Regions from separate parts of the Homo sapiens genome. Here all the other regions are linked to region 4. Evidence: promoter capture Hi-C in 16 types of primary human blood cells and fetal thymus (Javierre and others, 2016). All regions are on one chromosome and are shown on one strand. Each heading gives the region's core, a stretch centred on a gene start or on the middle of the fragment in contact. The rest is flanking DNA. Distances are from core to core; before and after follow the strand shown.

The links. The method cuts DNA at HindIII sites, captures the fragments that hold promoters and counts their contacts. A CHiCAGO score of 5 or more calls a contact.
Region 1: a fragment that was not itself captured here is called in contact with the fragment with the promoter of ADAD2 in region 4 in 4 of 17 cell types (erythroblasts, megakaryocytes, endothelial precursors and 1 more); the score reaches 6.0 in erythroblasts.
Region 2: a fragment that was not itself captured here is called in contact with the fragment with the promoter of ADAD2 in region 4 in 2 of 17 cell types (endothelial precursors and megakaryocytes); the score reaches 7.8 in endothelial precursors.
Region 3: a fragment that was not itself captured here is called in contact with the fragment with the promoter of ADAD2 in region 4 in 2 of 17 cell types (neutrophils and erythroblasts); the score reaches 8.2 in neutrophils.
Region 5: a fragment that was not itself captured here is called in contact with the fragment with the promoter of ADAD2 in region 4 in 1 of 17 cell types (fetal thymus); the score reaches 5.9 in fetal thymus.

What each region holds. Positions count from the first base shown.
Region 1 is chr16:84,501,575-84,504,274 of GRCh38, reverse strand. The region is part of intron 1 of MEAK7 (MTOR associated protein MEAK7); the gene reads left to right. Among named protein-coding and RNA genes, the nearest start is that of MEAK7, 1.7 kb to the left of the region's middle. RefSeq lists an enhancer at 1-206. The HindIII fragment of the contact is 627 bases long and covers 1,043-1,669 here.
Region 2 is chr16:84,466,740-84,469,439 of GRCh38, reverse strand. ATP2C2-AS1 (ATP2C2 antisense RNA 1) reads left to right here and starts at 2,079. Exons shown (of 3, transcript NR_146503.1): 1 at 2,079-2,136. The HindIII fragment of the contact is 1,555 bases long and covers 659-2,213 here.
Region 3 is chr16:83,929,060-83,931,759 of GRCh38, reverse strand. LOC105371372 (a long non-coding RNA gene) reads left to right here and starts at 551. Exons shown (of 2, transcript XR_007065147.1): 1 at 551-1,154; 2 at 1,657-2,700. The HindIII fragment of the contact is 4,069 bases long and covers 1-2,700 here.
Region 4 is chr16:84,189,745-84,192,444 of GRCh38, reverse strand. It overlaps ADAD2 (adenosine deaminase domain containing 2), which reads right to left and starts at 1,288. Exons shown (of 10, transcript NM_001145400.2): 1 at 797-1,288. The coding sequence starts at 1,214. RefSeq lists an enhancer at 1,248-1,542. The HindIII fragment of the contact is 4,803 bases long and covers 237-2,700 here.
Region 5 is chr16:84,606,885-84,609,584 of GRCh38, reverse strand. All of the region lies in intron 2 of COTL1 (coactosin like F-actin binding protein 1), which reads left to right. Among named protein-coding and RNA genes, the nearest start is that of COTL1, 9.8 kb to the left of the region's middle. RefSeq lists an enhancer at 2,567-2,616. The HindIII fragment of the contact is 4,371 bases long and covers 1-2,700 here.

The sequences.
Region 1 (2,700 bases), core at 107-2,606, 310 kb before region 4:
AGCCTGTGTAGACGCGGAAAGGGAGGGGTGCCTCCACGGAGGAGGCGAGTCTGGGGTAGACACTGAAGTGTGTGTGGAGGGGGTTTTCCTTCTTGTATTCTGACCACACCCATCTGGGCTTTTCCAGGACAGTGAGCTGATAACTGTTCCCAGGCCATGTAGGTGGCCAGCACAGGACAGGTCACCTTCTGGCCCACAGGAACTTCTTGCCCAGGCTCAAGCTGCCCCTTCGCACAAGGGCCTCTGGGCTCTGAGACACAGACAGGACTTCGAAGCCTGTCCAGATGAGGCAGTTGGAATCTCCCCAGCTTGTGGGGGTACGGAGGGACCCTTGTGTGGCTCTAGGGATGCGGGGCCCTTGGAGTAGAGAGTTGGAGCTTGGCAGCCAGGGTGGGAAGCAGCCATGTAACAGCCTGTTGGAGAAGCTCTGAGCAGGAGGTGACTAAGCCATTCCTAGGATACTAGTGGGAACCTTGGGGGCCATCCTGCAGACAATCGGTCCCTGTCCACCCCTCCATCACGGAGGCAGAGCAACCTTCCGTTTCTTCCAAGCAGGGCAGTTTCTCTTGTTCTAAGACAAGATCCCAAGGAGCCATTCTCTGTTGTCTTGGGCCCATTATTCTGTCTCTGACCTCCAGTAAGCAGATCAAATGCCCTGGGTTACCTTATTTAATCTTCTCAACCTTATGTTAAAGAAATTAATTAATGATGCTTATTAAAAGCACATTAATTATTGAAGACCATTGCAATGGGTATAGGGACCACAGCAATGGGATTTTGTAGTAAAGGAGAGAGATTGGGCTCAACTCTGATTATAGCATGGGCAAGTGGGAAGCCAGGAAGCAGGGTGGGGATCAGTGGATGGAAGATGACTGAGGAAACATCAGGGCGCTAGGGTGGATTCTGGGTAAGCTTACCTAGCAGTTTGTTACTGAAGGCAGGCCAGGGTGATCAGACATCACCTAGGGCAAGCTCGTCCAACCCGTGGGCCATATGTGGCCTAAGGCGGCTTTGAATGACATCCAACACAAATTCATAAGCTTTCTTAAAACATGAGATTTTTTTTTTACCATATATGTAGATATATGCACTTATCAGTTATTGTTAGTGGGTTTTATGTGTGGCCCAAGACAGTTCTTCCAGTGTGGCCCAGGGAAACTGAAAGATTGGATATCCCTAACCTAAGCATTAAACCTGGTTAGATAGCAAGTGAACAGATAATGGTGATCAAATATCAAGGATGAGTGGTTTTGTGGGTTTTTTTGTTTGTTTGTTTTTTGTTTTGCTAAAACCAGATTTTACAAAGAGGTACACAGATGGGCCCAGGAGCCTGACTAAAGTCTGGTCAAGCAAAACATCTTGGTCACTTATTATGGGCTGCTGGAACTTTTGTTTGTGTTTTTATGAGACAGAGTCTTGCTCTGTCACCCAGGCTGGAGTGCACTGTTGTGATCTTGGCTCACTGCGACCTCTGCCTCCTGGTTCAAGCGATCTTCCCACCTCAGCCTCCTGAATAGCTGGAACTATAGTCACACGCCACCACACCCGGCTGAGGTTTGTATTTTTGGCAGAGACGAAGTCTCACTATGTTGCCCAGGCTGGTCTCAAACTCCTGGCCTCAAATGATCCTCCCAAAGTTCTGGGATTATAGGCTTGATGATGGAAAGCTTTCAGTCCCTGGCAAGTTTTCTCGGTGTCATGGGACTTTCACAGTACACCTGGGTACATGGGGTGGCCTCTTCTCTGCAAAGCTGTGCATAACACAACCCTACATTGGCCTCGAGACTTCTGTGGGTTCCCTTGTATCAAGTTCCGCTTCCATTTTGTTCCGCTGCCCTACATCCTCAGAAGCCAGGTTTTCTCACCTTCAGCCCTACCGATGTCTGGGACGGACACTTCCTCGTCGTAAGGCCATCCTGTGCACTGTAGGATTTTTAGCAGTATCCCTGGCCTCTGCCTGCTAGATGCCAACGGCACTCCCCTCCCCCAGTTGTGGCAACCACACACTTTTCCAGTCATTGCCAAATGCCCCTGGGGGACGAAACTGCTCCAGTCGAGCTCCACTGGTACAAGCAACCTTGATGTGCGCTGTCAGCACCAGCACCAGCGTGCATTGTCTTTTTTTTTTTTGAGACCGAGTTTCACTCTTGTTGCCCAGGCTGGAGTGCAATGGCATGATCTTGGCTCATTGCAACCTCCGCCCCCTGGGTTCAAGCAATTCTCCTGCCTCAGCCTCTCAAGTAGCTGGGATTACAGGCATGCACCACCACACCCGGTTAATTTTGTATTTTTAGTAGAGACAGGGTTTCTCCATGTTGGTCCAGCTAGTCTCGAACTCCCGACCTCAGGAGATCCACCCGCCTCGGCCTCCCAAAGTGCTGGGATTACAGGCGTGAGCCACCACACCATTGCCATTTCTTTATCTTGCCTGGCACGGGGCTCTCAAAGGAGACGGGCTGTCCTTGAGCCGTTCTGAGACGTGTCCCTTCACCAGCACTCTGCAGGTACTAAGAATGGCAGTGCTGTGGACAGCGCTGTGTTCTTAGGGGCTGCCCACCTTCCCACCTCACTGGCACCAGCCCTGGGGTTCCTACTGGGGCCTCCCATGCAACCTCCTCTCTCCTGCTTGAAAAAGTGGCGTTGCCAGCCTGGCTCTGCGTCCAAGCCTTTCCTGTCATCTCCTGGGCCTGCCCTGGTCTG
Region 2 (2,700 bases), core at 187-2,686, 280 kb before region 4:
TCAGCCTCCCGAGTAGCTGGGACTACAGATGCACACCACCACTCCCAGCTAAATTTCGTGTTTTTTGTAGAGGTGGTTTCGCCATGTTGCCCAGGTTGGTCTCAAACCCCTGAGCTCAAGCAATCCACCCACCACAGCCTCCCAAAGTGCTGGGATTCCAGGCATGAACCACCGTTCCAGGCCTCTTACTGACCTCTTTTATCCAGTAGTTCTCCCCGCTTGAGCATGCATCAGATTTGCCTAGAGAGCTTCTTAAAATGCATATTGCAGGTCTGCATTCCTGCTTCTGATGATGTAGGTGAGGATGGGATTAACTCTTGACAACCTTATCCATTTCTTTTACCATTGGATTGTTTTAAATCTCTGCTGGAAGTCTTCAAATTACTTTATGTAATATTGACCCCAAAGTATTGAAACTCTTTTGTAGTTATGTTTTTTTTCCTTTTCTTGTGTTTTCATTTTCCTAGATTGGATTCAGTTACTAATTTTGCTTTTATATTATTCCTGCTTTTCTTCAGTTTTTTTTTTTCAGTTTTTTGAGTTATTTTACTAAATAAAAAATAATGGAAGTAGATGAATACATAAAGCTATTACTTTTTTCTTGGGCCCTGAGTTATTTTGCAGTATTGTATAGATAGGTGTGTGTTGATCATAAGCTTCTAGATTTTCTGTGGCCTTCATTTTGATTTTCTCTTGTACCCAAGAGTTTTTAAATTTTGCTGTGCTAGAGAATTTCCCCTAGTCCTGTCACTCGTCTTTAAATTAGATTGCATAGTGATTAGAGATGTCATCTGTATTATTATTTTTTTAAGACAGAGCCTCACTTCATTGCCCAGGCTGGAGTGCCATGGTGTGATCTCAGCTCACTGCTACCTCTGCCTCCCAGGTTCAAGCGATTCTCCTGCCTCAGCCTCCCGAGTAGCCTGGGATTACAGGCGCCCACCACCATGCCCAGCTAATTTTTGTATTTTTAGTAGAGATGGGGTTTCGCTATGTTGCCCAGGCTGGTCTCAAACTCCTTACCTCAAGTGATCCAACCGCCTCGGCCTCCCAAAGTTCTGGGATTACAGGTCTGAGCCACCATGCCCGACCAAGAAGTCATCTATATTAGATCTACTCTTTGGAATCACTGAGGTTTTGTGTCCTTTCATGTGGTAAGTTAATATAATGAATTTTCTGTATCCTTTGCCTGAATTTCCCATACTGTTTCCTCTTTAAATTTGAATGTTGTGTTGGTACATAGTCTGGCCTATGGATTTTTCAGTGGTGATTATATCTTGTTAAATTTCCTTCTTGGTCTCCTTTAATGCTTTTGGCCTTTCTTTTAATCTTGTCTGATTAGACTGTGTCACCTTGGTCTTGTGTGTTGTTTGTCTTTACCTGGTGTATTTTTGCCCTATGAGTATATCTTATCTTCTTACACACTTTGAAATAATTTTAGATTCATATAGACTTCCAAAAATTGTACAGGAGTTTCTGTCACTCCATGAGTGAGTGGATAAAGAAATTGTGGTACATCCATGCAGTGGAATACTAGTCAGCCATGAAGAAGAACACACATAAAACAACTTGAAGGGACCTTACAGGTATTATGCTTAGTGACAAAAGCCAGTCTTAAAAGGTTCTATACCATGATTCCATTTATGTAACAGTATTGAAGGAACAACATTATGGTGATGAAGAAGGGATTAGAGGTTGCTGGGATTAGGAGGGTGTTACTATAAAAAGTAAGGAGGAGTTTTTCAGGGGCGATGGAAGTTTTGCCTCCTCATTGTAGCAGTGGTTACCTGAATTGATGTGTGTCATACAATTTCATAGAACTTGTGTTGTGGGGGGCAGGAAACCACTCTCAGACCCAGTGATTGGCTAGAAAGACTCAGGACTCAGAAACTGTTGAGCTCAGAGGGAGAGGGTGACCAGTCTCTGCAGTTGCAGCCCTGGGGCTGTTCTAATCTGTATCTTTTCCTGGTAATAGACATGGCTGTGAGCATGACAGGTGTCAGTGAGCTCTGTGTGCCTCATCAACGAATCATCCAACCTGAAGGTGGTTGTGGGAAACTCTTGGACCTGCAGTCAGTATCAGAAGGCCTGGGCAGACTTGGCCAGCCACCTGGAGCACTGTGCCCTTAAACTCAGGTTTGCCTAACATCAGATACTATGTAAAAACCAGTGAAATTGAAATAGGTCTGCTGATAACAATATCATACCAAGCTTGTTAGAACAAGTTTATCTGTGTCTTAAAAAAAAACAAAAACAAAAAAACCCTGGGATTTTGATGGTAATTGTGTTAAACCTAATACAACAATCTCGGGAGAATTGATACTTTTTTTTGAGACAGACAAATAGTATTCAATTTTAAATTTCAGTTTCCAGTTGTTCATTGCTAATATATAGAAATACGACTGCTTTTTGTGTGTTAACCTTGTATCTTGTGGCTTTACTAAACTCGTTGATTCTACGAGGGTTTTTCTTTTTTAAAAAGATTTGTTGGGATTTTCTGTGTGGACAATTACGTTATCTGTGATTTTCTCCTTTCCAGGCTCTTTGCTAATGCCTTTTAACTTTTCTTGCCATATTACACTGGCTAGGACTTCTAATACTGTGCTGAATAGGAGTGGTGAGGCTGGTCACCCTTGGACCTTATCCTGTGGGGAAAGAATTCAGTTTTTCATCATTAAGTATGATGTTAGCTATAGGTTT
Region 3 (2,700 bases), core at 170-2,669, 260 kb after region 4:
CGAGCGCGGTCTGCACGTGGGGCGAGTGCCAGGGCCTCCCGTGGAGGGGCTCACTTCACCTCCCAGGACCCCTGCGAGGAAGAGACCCGAGGAGCCATTTTACTGCCAGGGAGATGGCAGCTCACAGGTTATGGCACTGTCCCAAGATCACACGACGGGCAAGCAACAGCACCAGGTTCCCACCCAGGCCACCTGCACCCCAGAGTCCACAAGCTGAGCCTCCTGCCTCCAGGGCCACCGCCCAGGAGCCCCTCCTCCTGCCTGGCCCTACCAGGCCCCCCAGCACACCTCACCCCTTCCTGGAGCAGCCCCTGCCCCTCCCTGCTCCAGGCCCTCCTTACCTGACAACGAAGGGGCCGGGTGCAGCAGAGGTGACAGAGGTGACCAGTTTGGCCGGGGAGGAGTGGACACACTGGGGTTGGCCCTCCCCCAGGGGACACCCCCCCGACGTGGTAACAGGGGAGCTGGGGGACAAGAGGCCAGGCTGGGCCGTTTGTCGCATCACAAAGTCCTGCCCTGGGCTTGCTGGGGTGCCCGGTCAGTGGTGGGCAGCCTCAGGGTGGCTCTGCCTGAGGGCCCAGCCGGCCCCGCTCCCGTCCTCTGCTGCAGCTCCTCCGGAGCAACTGCAGCCTCGGTGATAGCACCTGGAAAAGGGGCACATCTTGCCAAGGTGTGCCCAAGGGGCAGGTTGGGTTGCTGTGATGATGGGTACACAGGGCCCTGCACACGGTAGGTGCTCAGTAAACAACTGCTGAAGGATGTGCCTTTCCCACGGTCACACGCAAGCAGGTGCTGGCGCAGGGCTCAAACCCAGACCAACCTCGGTGCCCACCCGGTGCCTCCTCCCAGGCAGCCCTGCTGGCTGTGAGGATGTGGGAGCCCTGGGGATGGAGGTTTCTACCAACCTCGGTGCCCTCCCTGTGCCTCCTCCCAGGTGGCCCTGCTGGCTGTGAGGATGTGGGAGCCCTGGGGATGGAGGTTTCTACCAACCTCGGTACCCTCCCTGTGCCTCCTCCCAGGCGGCCCTGCTGGCTGTGGGGACAGAGGTTTCTACTTGTCCTGCCTCCATCCCATTTCCCGTAAGGGAGGAAATTCTCCGTGGAACTCCCCTGCTGGACTGACACTCCTCCACCGCTCGACACATTCAGAATCAGGTCAGGGCTTGGTCAGCTCGGAGCCTTCCACCAGGAGAATGAGGCTCAGGAGGCTGCTGGCCTTGTGGGGAGCTCTGGGTGGGACCCTCCTTGAGGGGTGAGACCCCCTCACCACCATATTTCTGCCCATAATTCATTGTCTGCCCGTGGTTATTCTCCTAAGAGCTGCCCTTGCATGGGCAGCCGCTGCGAGGGAGGAGAAATGCACACCCGTCTGTCCACCGCTTCCTCTGGGCAGCGATGTCCACCCAGCACTGCTTCCCCACCCCCAGGGACACCTCCTACCCCTCCTCATGTGGACACCGGCACTTTGCCCCAGATCCCAGGGTGAATAGCGCTGCTGCTTAAGGACAGCACAGACCCTAGGAAGATAAGGCAGATGACATCAGAAATGTTCAGAGGGTCGTCCATGCCAGCTGTGGGAACAGCCCCGGGGCCAGGCCTGTGGGCACCTGGGCCTTTGCAGATCAGAAGGAGCAAGTGTCCTTCTGTGTTGATGCAGGCTTTCCAGTCGGAGCTGCAAAAGGAGACACAAAAATCACAGCTCATTCCAAGAGGTGCCTGCAGCCAGCAGCACCCAGCAGCATTGTCACCACTGCAAGCAGCCACTGACAGCCGACCTGAGAATGAACATGAGGGCCAGGGAGGAGGCAGCTCAGCCTGCAGCGTCAGCAGCGCAGTTCGGCAGAGCCTGCTAATCGTCTTGCTCAAGTTTCAAACTCTGTTTACCAAATGACCACAGAAGCGTTTTAACAACAAACACCTCATTTGAAGGCCAAGATGAAAAATTTTACATAAAAAATTAATTTTACTGGTTTACATTGTTTTTATACATTAAAATGAATACATTTACTTATTTTTTTGAGACAGGGTCTCATTCTGTCACCCAGGCTGGAGTGCAGTGGCACGATCATAGCTCACTGTCGACTCGACCACCTGGACCCAAGCAATCCTCCCACTTCAGCCTCCCAAGTAGCTGGGACTACAGGTGCTCACTGCCACATCTAGCTAATATTATTTTTATTTTTCGTAGAGATGGGGGTCTCGTTATGTTGCCCAGGCTGGTCTCCAGCTCCTGGGCTCAAGTGATCCTCCTGCTTTGGCCTCCCAAAGTGCTGGGATTAAGGCATGAGCCACCACGCCCAGCCAAAATGGACACATTTACTTATTGTAAATTTAGTAATGGCCACACAGCTCATAAGTGACGATGCCAGGCTCAGGACCCATCTCTGGGTCCTAATAAAATATTTTCTAGCCTCTGTCCTGTCTAACAATACAGTTGGAAAAAAACTGGGTACAGCTATGTTTTTATGTGCCTAAGGGTCAGCAAGATGTCAGAGATGACTGTGCATCGTATGGATGGGCTGGCACCGTCTGGATGAGTAACTGAATGCAGTCGAGTGAGATTCATAAATTACACCTGCACCATGGCAAGCTGGACTTTGTCAGGCAAGAGGCTCTTGGACTCCTGCTATCAGAGAGGAAGGACCAGACAATTCAATGACTGCACCTCTTGTCTCACCTCAGCTCTTCCACCTCTCAGACC
Region 4 (2,700 bases), core at 39-2,538:
AAGTGTGGTGGCTCACACCTGTAATCTCAGCACTTTGGAGGCCCAGGAGGTCAGATAGCTGGAGCCCAGGACTTCAAGAACAATCTTGGCAACATGGTAAAACCACATAATCTCTACAAAAAAAATACAAAAATTAGCCAGGTGTAGTGGAGTCCACCTGTAGTCCCAGCTCCTCGGGAGGCTGAGGCGGGAGTATCACTTGAGCCCAGGAGGCGGACGCTGCAGTGAGGCAAGCTTGTTCCACCGCATTCCAGTCTGGGCAACAGAGTAAGACCCTGTCTCAAAAAAAATCCAAAACACAAAACAACCACTCTGAGTTAAGGGATTTAAGGGGTATGTATTGAAGAAGAGGAAATAACGGTTTACCTCTGTATCATGTACACGGTATTACCCTTACCAAACTGTGCTTAATAATGTCTTTTAAGTCAGGGGAGTGGCTCCCATTTCGGTATCTCCAATGCTAGCACGGCAACTTAAATTGCATGTAAGTGGCTCTAAAAACGTATACAGAAATACCAGGGGGCCTTAACCTCCCTGGAAGTCAGGTGGGAAGAATGTTCACCTGCCATGACTCTTTCACAGTTGAGCATCTGGTGTGGCTGGTGATCCTTGGAGATCGCTGCTCACAGCAGGGTCCACCCCAAGGTCCCAAGCTCAGGCCAGGTCCTGCTCCGGCGGTGTCTCTGAGCATAGGGACCAAGGTCCACCTTCCCCAGACCCCCTGCTCCCCACGTCCTGGGACCCAGCCCTCCGTGGCTCTGCCCTCTGGCACAGCCATGCCCCGGCCCGGCCTCACCTGGTGGCTGGTCCTCCCGGAAGAGCAGGAAGATGCCCAGGCTGGCCGCGTACTCCGTGAGCAAGGACACGGCCTGGCTGGCAGGTGGGTCTTTGAGCGGCAGGCTGAGCCCTGCTGGGGGCACAGGGACCCTCGGGGCCTTCCCCATCTGTTCCCCCAAGTTTTCCCACGCCCGGGCTGCCCCCAGTTCCCCGACTCCGGCCCCTGCCCCAGGCCCACTGTCCCTCAACACCGAGACCTGGGGCCACCCGCCCTCCGCGCGATACGTCGCGGGCGCGGGCGCGGGCCCCCAGGCACTTTGGGCCTGGGCGGGTAGCGGTCGCCAGGGGCGGGGCTGGGGGCTGATCTGCAACGATGCAGCCAGGCGGGGCTTCCTACGACTGCCGTCGTCGTCAGCGCCCTGAGAAGCCGAAGCCATGGCCGCCAACGAAGATCTGAGGCGCTAGGCCCTATCTCGCGCTGCTCTCGCCCTTTCACACGCGCAGGGCGGGTGCCTTCACGTGGGGAGCACGCGGACGAAGCGTGGTGAGCTCCACCCCTGCCATACGATGGCCAATGAGAGCCCTGAGATCTGTGATGGACAGTGCACCCTGCCAATGGGAAGGCCAGTCTCCCAACGACGGCGGCTTGGATGCTTATGGCTGAGGCCAAGGTCCCACTGCCTGGACGGAAGTTCCGGCTGAGACCAACGTCCCATGGCCTGGAGGGAAGTTCCGGTGGGTGGGTGAGGGGTTGCTCTAGCAGCTGCTTCTTTAACCGTGGGTGGTCGCGGAGCCTGCAAGGCGGGGGAGGAGCATCTGGGGGCGTCAGGTCCAGTTTCACACTCTAGCTCCTGCCCTAGGCCCCTAGGCACCTCCACATCACAGGCTGCTCAGCTGCTTCACTGGCTGAGCCTGGAGACTTCAACACAGGAATTAGGGGTTCACACTGTCAGCAGGATCATTGGATATAAAATTTCACTGCAGGCCTTTCTGAAGCCAAACATAAGTGTTCCCCAGCCAAGAATTAGCCATTTGATGCAAAATGTAGGTGGGCGTGGTGGCGCACACCTGTAGTCCCAGCTACTCAGGAGGCTGAGGCAGGAGAATCGCTTGAACCTGGGAGGAAGAGGCTGCAGTGAACTGAGATTGCGCCACTGCACTCCAGCCTGGGCAACAGAGCGAGACTCTGCCTCAAAAAATAAATAAATAATTTTTTTTAAGAAAATAGCCATTTGATACTCTGCCTTTTTCCCCCCTAAGAAGGGATTTTGAGTTAATTCATACAAATAAGACAAGATAACAATTGTTTAAAGTGAAGAGCTAGAGATCAAGAGACATAGGAAAAATAAGATAAAGACAGGGATGAAGACAATTTACACAAGGCTTACTGTGATGCAACGCGTATTTGCTTGAAGGAGGCTGCAAGTTTAACGGAGTCTTACAGTAGCCACTAACTTGGGAAAGCATGACCAGTGTCTGTAAGATTTGTCACAGTGCTTGCTGCTGCTGCTGCTGAAGCTGGGCCTGGCAGCTCTCTCCAGGATTGTGACAGTGAGGATGCTGGGGCATATGAGGACCAGGTGGTGGAGTCCTCCCAGAACCTTTGACTTGGAAGAAGCAGGTGTGGTGGGCTGGGTAGTCAGCCTCCCCAACATGTCAAGAATTGACATCAGGAAGAACAATTCCATTTTGTGTGTGTGTGCAGCCCAGAGAGTGGGATGAGGCCCAGGAGAGTGAAGGGACAGCACAGCAGATGTCCAGAAATGGACTGAGGGCTGCACATATCCACAGAGAGACTTCCACAAAGTCATCAAACCCAGTAACGCCCCAAACGCTCACCAACAGGAGGTTGCGTGAACAAATCAATGGTATATTCATACAATGGAACACGACTCACTAATTTAAAAAGGAAACAACAGCTGC
Region 5 (2,700 bases), core at 185-2,684, 420 kb before region 4:
AAGAGGCCCTTAAGGTAGAACGGGCTACCAGAGGAGAAAGTGAGGCCCCCATCACAGGAGGTATGTCAGGAGAGTCCGACTAACCACTTGGCATAGATGTTGAAGAAAGGATTGAAGGAGGCCTTCCTTGCCTCTGCACTCTCCTGTCTCACAGCCCCATTTTCTGGCCTGCTATGCCTCCAGGAAGACTGACTGGCCTTAGTGCAGGCCTAGGGGATGCCTCTTGGAGGTGGCATCAGCCCTACCTGGATGACAGAGACTGAGAGTGGCAGAGAGGTGGTTCCTACGGAAAACTGGAGTATAGCGACCAAAAGAAGGGAGCTGGAATGCGAAGGAGTCAAATTCACTTGCTGTCCATGACCTCTGCGTATATGGCAATACAACACACAGAGAGCCGGCAGTCTATTTATCGTGCTGTTTTGCACCTGAATATTTTTTCCCTAGCTGAACATACACACCCGGGTTTCAGAAATTTGGGCGAGAAGGGAAGGAGAGAAATTGCTTTCTTTCCTAAGGTCTAAGGGAATGTGACATCAAAAAGAAGCTCCAAATCTGTGACAGGGCTTTGGGCAGTTATAAAGTGCTGAACAGTCTGTCCGTTAATGCATGCGACAAACATTTTATTGGGTTCCTACTTTGCTCCAGAAACAATGTTGGGTTTTTAATTTAATTTAATTTTTGAGACAAGGTCGTGCCCTGTCACCCAGTCTGGAGTGCAGTGGCACGATCTTGGCTCACTGCAACCTCTGCCTCCCAGCTCAGGCGATTCTCCTACCTCAGCGTCTCCAGTAGCAGGGACTACAGGCGCCTGCTACCACGCCTGGCTCATTTTTGTATCTTTTGTAGAGACAGGGTTTCACTATGTTGTCCAGGCAGGTCTCGAACTCCTGGGCTCAAGCGATCCACTTGCCTTGGCCTCTCAAAGTGTTGGAATTACAGGCGTGAGCCACCCCGCCCGGCTGGGTTTTTGTTTTTAAGTGGTACCCTGAAGGGCTGCGAAAACATTACCTTTGTAATTTTCTGCACTATCCAGTCTCCCATTGCCTTCTTTGCCCACAGATCTGTTGCTGGGAGGCCCTGAGCCACGCTGCATAGCTTTTTTGTGTGTCCACAGGGGCGTGGGCTTTGTGGTAGCTCTTTCAGTCTACTGCATGGTGATGTTTGTGCTTTCTTTTCTGTTTGTGGCTGTGTCACCACAAACAGAAAATGATGAAGGATGATAGATGTGTATCTTCCTGGTAAGTACAGTGTCTCAAGTTCAAAAAAAGCATTCCCTAAACACTAGGTGAATTGGGTTTTTGTCCCTTGAAAATATTCAGAAGTTAATGCAAACTTTTTGAAAGCATCCCTTACAGATTTTATAGGTGTTATAAATACCTCCTTGTCTCCCATCCTTTCTTTACCCCATTTCATTCTGGTGCCCACCCACACCCAGAGCATGGAGCTCTATGTCTAGGTCTTTGGTAAATATTCCAGTTGCCAGATTTAGTGGTCATTTCTTTGTCTCTGATCCACTTTACCTCCCTCCAGCATTTGCCAGTGGCCAGCACCTCCTGAAAAGATAGTCCCCCTCGCTTGTGCTTCTGCTTCTGCGTGGCTAGACTTGCCTAGTTCTCCTTTTATGTCTCTCTCCTGTCATTCTCACTTCCTTCTGCTGCTGCTTCTGCTTCCTGCCCGATAAGTCTAGGCGTTTCTTAGGGCTCCACCCTTGATCATGACCTTGTCTTCTCCGGGACATTTCTCGAGCATCTACTATGCCCCAAGCCCTTTGCCAAGTACTGAGTTGAGTCCTTTCCCTGACCCCAGTGAGCTTGCAGTCCAGGCTAGGGGTGGCTTTCTAACCTTCAGGTCAGATTGCTCCCCCGCCTCCCACTTCCAACACCTTTTCTCCATAAGGTCCAAACGCTCAGACATGACATGGGGTGCCCTTTATGACAGGTGCTGGCCAGCCGACCCCTCCAGTGTGTGTCCCCAACACACACGATGCTGACCTTAGGGATGCCCAAGTCCCAGGCCCTACGTAGGAGCTCTGCGTGTGTTAGTTTATCTAATTTATCTTCTCTCTGAGGGAGTAATGAGCAGAGTGACACCCACAAGTAGAAATTATCCCCACTTCACTGAGGAGGAACCTGACATTTTCCTTGGAGAGCCAGAGTCGCTTGCTGGAGATGCTGCAGTTGGGAAGAACTGCACTTTGAATCCAGATCTGTGTCCGAGGCTCTCAGCTCTTCCCCTGTGCCGCGCTGGCCTGCCTTCCCGCTTCCCTAGGCCTGTGGACTCTCTTCCCTCTGCCTGCACTGTCTTCATCTGTTTCGCCTTCCTGGAGGACTCCTACACACCCGTCAAGGCCCGGTGTGAATGTTCCCTCTGCTCGGATGCCCTCCTTGTCTTTGTGGTGTTGGTGTCCCGTATGGTGGTCGTGTGCATGTCTGTTTCTTCAACTCCTTGGCGAAGTCCTCCTGGAGAGAGGGACTTTGTCCCTTTGGTGGTGGTATCCTTGGCGGGGAATCCCCATCCTTCATGGTTAGATGGCTGCCAATCTCTTTCCCCCATGGGTGTGTTGCTCCCTTGAGTGGGCCCAAGTCATGGGCTGAATCCTGGGTCATAGGCTTTTCCCAGCACGTGCTGGCTGTCCACTCCTTTGTCTCTTGCTTATAGAAGAGAACCCGTAATGCCTGGGTTCAAATTTCAGCTCTACTT